Regions from separate parts of the Homo sapiens genome. Here region 2 is linked to region 1. Evidence: promoter capture Hi-C in 16 types of primary human blood cells and fetal thymus (Javierre and others, 2016). All regions are on one chromosome and are shown on one strand. Each heading gives the region's core, a stretch centred on a gene start or on the middle of the fragment in contact. The rest is flanking DNA. Distances are from core to core; before and after follow the strand shown.

Region 1 (4,002 bases), core at 406-2,905:
AATTTGCCAATTTTAATGAGATGCTGTAATTTATTTTTTTTTTTTTTTTTTTTTTTTTTGAGACGGAGTTTCGCTCTGTCGCCCAGGCTGGAGTGCAGTGGCGCGATCTCGACTCACTGCAAGCTCCGCCTCCCGGGTTCACGCCATTCTCCTGCCTCAGCCTCCCGTGTAGCTGGGACTACAGGCGCGCGCCACCATGCCCGGCTAATTTTTGTATTTTTAGTAGAGACGGGGTTTCACCGTGTTAGCCAGGATGGTCTCGATCTCCTGACCTCGTGATCCGCCCGTCTCGGCCTCCCAAAGTGCTGGGATTACAGGCGTGAGCCACCGCGCCCGGCCTGTAATTTATTACTATAATTATGAGCCATTCTCTTATTATTTAAAATGTTAAAATGTTTCATCTGTACATATTGTTATATCAGTTTTCCCACTACTACTTTTGTGTGGTTGTGGGGTTTTATGTATTTGTTCTCTTTCGTTTGTTTTTAGGTGTTCTTTTTAAGCCCATCCTTCCTCTGAGACCTCCCTCCTCCAGTAGTCAGGCTCCTAGAAAGGCTCTCGTGCTAAACCCATCTGCTTTCTCCACTTTGCCCATGTACCCAGTACTCTGTGCAGAGTTTATCTGCTCCAAATTTCTCACTACAGATCTTGACCAGTACAAGACAATATCTATAACCAAAGTTTCCCTTCTCCTCTTTTTCTACAAAAACTTATTGATTCTGTCCCATCCGTATGTTATTTTCGGGTAGCTGGTTAATTCATTCAATGAAAACAATGAGAAGGAATGAAAAAGAAAGACCAATGAGATCACTGAAGTGGGGTTCCTGAGATAAGTTCTGAACCAGATCTGCCACGGACTAGGTCTGGGGCCTTATCTCCAGACCATAGTTTCCCCCAACTGTTAAAAAAAAAAAAAAAAGTAATTGGATTTCAAGATTTCCAGTCACATTCACCTGAAGCATTCTATGATTATTTATTATCCAGATTTTCAAATAAAATATTAATAGCTGAGACTACATTAACATGTTGTTCGGTATGTGTAATAGTTCCATTTTAACAGCTATCTTTGGGACTTTCAACCCAAAGCAGCAAGCAGCCTGAGACTTCCTAATACTGCTCAAATGATTTGGCAGTAGAATTGTTTATAAAATTCATTTGATCCTTCAGTGTTAAAGCCAAATCTATGTTGTTCCAGTACCCTAATAAAGTAATCAATAGAAGCCTGGATTGTTGTTGGAAAAAGTAAGGTAGGACCAAGAAACGGAAACCACCAAATTGCCAAGCAAAGCAGTATGATAACACTAAAGGATATAACACAAGTCTGCCCTTCTGCATTCATTTAATGTCAGTTATAATTTCTCCCAAAGGAGACCTTGAATTTTTTAATTATGTTCTCAAATTACAACATTTGAAATGGTAACTCTAGTTGAATACTCCTTCTTCTAGGCGTTGTATCTTCTAAGAAATGTCCCCCATTCCAGCTCTGTACATAAGGTTTCTACTAGGAACCTATCTCCAGAGCGACAGTTCATTGATTGGCCCAGAAAGGAGTGCATGACCAAAGCAAAGACAATGAGTTACTTCCCTGGATATTGGAACTTGGAACCATGACAATAAGAGGAGTTTCCCTGAGGGTGCTGAACATTCTGAGCACGTAAGCAGTGAAGCCCATGAGCCACTAGAAGCCACATGTTCTGCCATGTGGAGAAGAATGGTAAGTGTTAAGAGAGAAAAAATATACCTGTGTGCAGAGAGAAGTGAGGCTTAGAGGCAGCTGGATAAACACTCATAGAGCAACAGATTTGAGAGAGATTTGCAAACTATAAGGCTACTCGAGAGGCATCACTCTGAGATAAACTCAGACGGCTGGTGTGCTGCAGTAAATACTAGAGCAAAACTGCCTACTTTGAAGATAGCGAATGAGACTTAACCATGAGCAGTTGCCAATAGAACCTGGGAGCTCTTTGCATTGGTATCAGTGTTCAGACAGAAGACCGTGGCCATTTGAACACTGATCCACTGAGAATATAGAACAGTGTGGTGACAACAAATAGAGTGAAGTCAAGATGAGAAAAGAGAACATGAACATGGACCATGCTACCGTAGCTTGGTTTTATGCAGAGGGACATGTGGCTAGTACGTGGACATGACTGAATTGATTTTATATCATGCTTATGTCGACTATGTAATAAATTTAATGTAATTTTACTTCACAGGATAGATTTAGTGATTCATAATCAATCACTGTAATACTCAAAAGACATGATTGGATTAACCCTACAAGGTATAGTTACAGATACCTGACCCTAGAAGATTGCAAATGCCAATGTCAACAGCATTCCGATTTTCAGAGTATGAATGAAGCAAGGGATAAACAGTCCTTCTTACAGGATGGCTCAGTCCTGTCAAGAAAGTCCTTCTTACAGGATGGCTCAGTCCTGTCAAGATGTGCTCTGCATCCCTGTCCTTTAATCCTACTGACTCAGTCACACTTATAAACACTTCTGTGTTTATAACTTCTTTCCCATCTCCTCTCCCTGGAGTAACTTTCTATCTCCCACCACCCCACCTGGTAAATTTTATCTATTTTTTAATTTCCTACTCAAATATCATCAATGTGATGTTTTCCCCTATACCCCAGGCAATCCGAGTAGCTCTGAATCCTGTGATCAGCCACTTCTATGAAACATTTACTGCAGTTGTCACATTGCCTTCAATTACATGTTTACGTGTCTGTCTTTCCCAGCTGTGTTGTATTCATCTCTGTGCTCCCCAGATCTAGCACACTGCCTGTACTGAATGGTTATTAAGTGAAAGCAATGAAATAATTAATCCCTAACTACTATGCATTACAATAATGGTTATAGTTTTTTAATTTGTGACAAAATAAACTTTGCTGTAATTTTATATAGACATGGCAATAACATAAACTTTGGCTATTGTGTGTTCATTCTTGTTAGTCAGCTATCCATGCAATACAGCTATCTCCTTAGAACTTAAAACACAACCAATCAAAAAAAAAACACTATATGCTAGATGAGCATGTTCTTCTCTAAACAAAGATACCTATATCATACCCTCACTTTAGGAGGTATGAAAGGATGAAAGAGGAATAAGTTTAATATTTTTCGAATTCAGTTTTACATCTATTTCTAAGAATCAGTTATAAAATTACGAAAGGCAAAATTTGGGGCAAAAAAATATGGAAGTGTTGCTACATTTTGTAGATTGCTAGTCTTACCCAGTTTCAGTTTCTTGGCCAATGCATCAATTTGATTGGTGGGGTCAGATCCCATGGACAGGAAGCATATCAGAGGTGTCCGGGTATCACTTTCTTCCCAAGTTTTCTCCAGATTTAAGATAACTGGTTCTGTGTACTTCTCCTCCAAAGAATCTGCAATATACTTTCTTGCTTGAAAAACAGTACGGTCTGGGCACCAAGACCTAAAAATGAATACAAGTTAGGCGAAATAAACTAAACGTGTTCAATTTTTATCCTATCTGAGTAAGTAAAAACATACATTTAATTAGCAAAAGGGCAACAAGTTAATTCCTACTTTTCCACATCTAAGTAAGAGGAATGGCAAGGTTTCCTATCACAGATGAGCACAAACTTAATCGTGTGGTTTTGGTACCAGCCAGGCATTGGCAAGAAGTAGGGCAGAGCCCATAACAACACAGTGTCCTCTACCAGCTCCAACACATGGTAGGGGCTGACCTGCCACACACTCTGAAGCTCCACAGCCTTTTCAGAGGAGGAACCAATATGCCAAAGATGCCCAAAGTAAGTGGGTCAGCAAGCATTTGTGGCATACCATTTGTGTAGTGCACACCATAGCAAGTTCTACACACACAGACACATTGGATAAGTGTCATTTAATATTGATATGGTAAAGCACAGACAAGCCCCACAGACTTTTTTTTTTTTGGTGCTACTAGATTGCACTATTTGACATAGATCTAATTTTTAAGTGACGGATTAAAAAATAAGACACATTTGTT
Region 2 (4,002 bases), core at 899-3,398, 330 kb before region 1:
TTCTCAAGAAGGAAGACCAAAGTCTGTCAACAAATCTGGATAGGCTTTTGTCAGAAGCCCTTGTCTGCTCTTCGGGCCCTTGTCCTAGACCCTTGTATGTTCTTCAAGACCATTGAACTCTCCCTAGCAACCACTTATTCCCCCTTACCAGAATTCCTCTTCTCCCCACTACCATAAACATGTTTTGCCAGGATCCAAGCCTCCATTCTCTCTGTAAACTCAAGATGGTACACAAGCTTCTGTACCCCATTGGGAGACTGGGTCTTCATTCTGAAGGCTCCTGGGTATATATGGTAAGTAAATTTGTATGCCTTTTCTCCAATTAATCCCCCTTTTATGAGTTGATTTTTCAGCAAACCTTCAGCAGGCCAAGGGGAACTTTCCCTTAGCCCCTACAGTAGTTTGCCATGGTAGACTAAAGAAAGCCCCAGTTCTTCATCCCTCCCAGGATCCCTGCCCTTTGTCATGTGACTTCTCACTCAGGCTGTATGGGCTTGGCCATGGGATTTGCTTTAGCCAATTGGGCTTGAAAGTATTTGTGAAATTGACTTGTTTATTCTCAATCTCTCTCTCTCTCTTTTTCCCTCTCTCCCATAGCCACAAGGACATTTCTGGACTGACCTGCTAGAGGAAGATAGAAAGACATAGTGCCACTGGACATTTCATTTTGGCCTACAGTAACCAACACCCACAGAATGGAACTGCCCATGGGTACCCTTAGTGGGAAACAGGGATAAAAATGAAACTACTGCTTTCTCAACACCTACCGTGTGCCCGGAAATGTTAACTCATTTCAGTGAGATGGTGATGTTGGGGCCAGCATTCAAGCCAGCCTCCAGCCTGACTTGGAAGCTCTGGGTGTTCACACCACCTGGCAGTGCCTCCAAAGACAGCCTTTAACCCTGCTTCCTCGTCTGGCCACACTCCTCACCCACTCCAGCGCCGAGTCTGACCCCAAAACATCTCTGCGAGGGCAGACCTCCATGTTACAAAGTCCGGGAGACACTTTCCAACCTCACCTTACTTGCCCCTCTCAGCAGCTTGGCATCTGTGTGGCTGCGGGTCTCCTGGGTTTCCTCCTGCCTACCTGGCCACACCTTTTCAGGTATAGCACGATAATCTGTCTGTATTTTTTCCCTCTTTCCTTATTTCGTTTTTTCTTTGCTGTCTTCCTTTCTGTCTCCTTCTTTCCCGTCTTGGTTTTTTCCTTCCTTCCTGAAATGGAGGACAACTGTCCCTCTTTGTCCGGCAAAGAGTCACTTCTGGAGAGCATTTAGATACTCAAATGTTGGGCAACGAAGCATCCATTGTTCAGCGCTTAGGGGAAGAGGCGGATCAATTTGCATAAATCCTTTGAGATATTCAGGGAGAGGAACGTGCAGTACCAATTTATAATAGTGACCTGTGGCCTTGAGATTTGTGGACATATTTGGGTTATATAGCTCTAGTTCTCCCTGGTGCTGAAACTCAGGACTTAGCCCTTCAGGGCTGAGTAAATCTCTAAGAATCTTGATAGTTACAGATAAGGGAGTTGCAGAGGAAGACACTAAAGACCCTATAATATGGCCGGTGGAGGCTGGAGCCCTTAACTGGAATTTCCATTGCCAGCTCATCTCTTCTGTAAACCTTGATTTTCCTCAAGGCTCAGCCTTAGGCCATCTTCTTTTCTCATTCTCTGTTTGCTCCCTAAGTCATGAAGTACCCTGCCAAGATTTCAACGACTAACTACAGTTCGGTGTCTCTCAAATTGTTATCTCTGAATCAGATTTCTCCTTTGAGTTCCTAGAGCTAAGCAGTCAGCATCATCCCCTTCTGCATCATCTCGTGGTTCAAGATGGCTGCTTGAGCTCCAGCCATCTGGTCTGCATTCAGTCAGAAAGGAAGAAGGAAAAAGGGGAGAAGAACACACGCCACACTCCACACCATTTTAAGGAGATTTCTTTATTAAACAGCCAGTGGAACAGTTTCTTACATTTCATTGGTTAGAACTTGGTAGCACAGTCACATCTCCCTTCAATGGAAACTGGGAAATGTAATCTCTTAGCAGGTGACAAAGTGCCCATCTAAATAGTGAGATTATGTTATGAAAAGGTAAAAGATTGAATAGTGGGAGAAATCAGGAGTTTCTACCACAATGCCCCAGGTCATAAACATGATCTTACCTCCAAAACAGGCCCAGACAGGGAAATCTATAGAGGGTAAAAGTAGATTAGTAGTTGCTTAGGGCTGGCGGTGGGGAAAGAGGGGTGGAATAGGAAGTGATAACAAGGCCGGGCACGGTGGCTCATGCCTGTAATCCCAGGACTTTGGGAGGCCAAGGTGGGTGGATCACCTAAGGTCAGGAGTTCAAGACCAGCCTGGCCAACATGGTGAAACCCCATTTCTACTAAAACTACAAAAATTAGCCGGGTGTAGTGGCGGGCACCTGCCTGTAATCCCAACTACTAGGGAGGCTGAGGCACGAGAATCGCTTGAACCCTTGAAATCTGGAGGCAGAGGTTGCAGTGAGCTGAGATTGCACCATTGCACTCCAGCCTGGGTGACAGAGTGAGACCCTGTCTTAAAAAAAAAAAAAAAAAAAAGGAAGTGATAACTAAAGGATACAGGGTTTCTTCTTCTTCTTTTTTTTTTTTTTTTTTTTTTGAGATGGAGTTTCGAGCTCAGGCTGTAGTGCAATGGCATGATCTCAACTCACCGCAACCTCCGCCTCCCGGGTTCAAGCAATTCTCCTGCCTTAGCCTCCCGAGTAGCTGGGATTACAGGCATGCGCCACCACACCTGGTATTTTTGTATTTTTAGTAGAGACGGGGTTTCTCTATGTTGGTCAGGCTGGTCTCAAACTCCTGACCTCAGGTGATCCGCCCGCCTCAGCCTCCCAAAGTGCTGGGATTACAGGCGTGAGCCACCACGCCTGGTCCAGGGTTTCTTCTTGAGGTGAAGAAAGTGGCCAGGAGTAGTTGCTCATGCCTGTAATCCCAGCACTTTGGGAGGCTGATGGAGGAGTAGAGCTTGAGTCCAGGATTTCAAGACCAGCATGGGCAACATGTTGAGGCCCCATCTCTACAAAAATAGAAAAATATTAATGGAGCATGGTGGCACACACCTGTGTTTCTAGGTACTCAGAAGGCTAAGGCAGGAGGATCTCTTGAGCCCAGGAGGTTGAGGCTGCAGTGAGCCGTGATCTTACCACTACCCTCTGGCCTGGGAAACAGAGGGAGAACCTGTCTCAAGAAAAAAGAAAGTGTTCTAAAATAGACTGTGTTGAAGTTGGCGCATATCTATGAATTATACTAAGAACCATTGACTTGTACAATTTAAATGGGTAAACTGTGTGGTATGTATATTATATCTCAATAAGCCCATTTTTAAAAAAACAAAACCCACTAGAAGATAAACTTCAGGAGGATGGGACTTTGCTAGCTCCTGACTGTCTCTGGCGTGTGGTGGGCACCCAGGAGCTGTTTTGTGACTGGTAAATGAATGAATGCTTGACCTCTTTCTCCCAACCCCTCACTGCCAATTCAGTGCAAAATCCTATTGTTTGACCTCTAAGTTCTGGCCGCTTCTCCCCAGCTTCACTGCCACCACGCAGTTTCACACTACCATTTTCTCCATCTCACAAGAGCCCCCTCCCATCCATTCTCCACGCAGCTGTCACAGAAGCCTTCTAAAAAGACAGAACTGATCTGTCCTGCCTCTGCCAAAAATGCCTCAATAATTTCCCATTGCTCCCAGGACAATGTGCAAAACCCCAAACATGGCCTCCAGGCCACCTTGCCTGCCTTGGCTTCTCCACCTACCTTGCCTGCCTTGGCTTCTCTGTCACCACCATACTCTGCTCTCCCCTCTCTGCAGTAGGTATCAGCTCTCCTGGTTCCTCAGACACTGCCTAGAACATGGGCAGAGCCTCCACTCACCCCATCCCACACACCCACTCTCCTCTCCAGTAGAGCTCAGCTCCAGGCCATCTCCTTACAGGGCTTCCCAGAAAGAGGCCATAAC

Evidence for each region. Contacts are between HindIII fragments. The CHiCAGO score rates a contact against its expected background, and 5 or more counts as called.
Region 2: a contact is called between a fragment that was not itself captured here and the fragment with the promoter of DNAH8-AS1 in region 1, in 1 of 17 cell types (naive CD8 T cells). The highest score is 5.3, in naive CD8 T cells.

What each region holds. Positions count from the first base shown.
Region 1 is chr6:38,950,760-38,954,761 of GRCh38, reverse strand. It overlaps DNAH8-AS1 (DNAH8 antisense RNA 1), which reads left to right and starts at 1,655. Exons shown (of 5, transcript NR_038401.1): 1 at 1,655-1,714. DNAH8 (dynein axonemal heavy chain 8) reads right to left here. Exons shown (of 93, transcript NM_001206927.2): 82 at 3,242-3,444. The HindIII fragment of the contact is 10,031 bases long and covers 1-4,002 here.
Region 2 is chr6:39,285,398-39,289,399 of GRCh38, reverse strand. No RefSeq gene overlaps it. Among named protein-coding and RNA genes, the nearest start is that of KCNK17, 27 kb to the left of the region's middle. The HindIII fragment of the contact is 3,820 bases long and covers 239-4,002 here.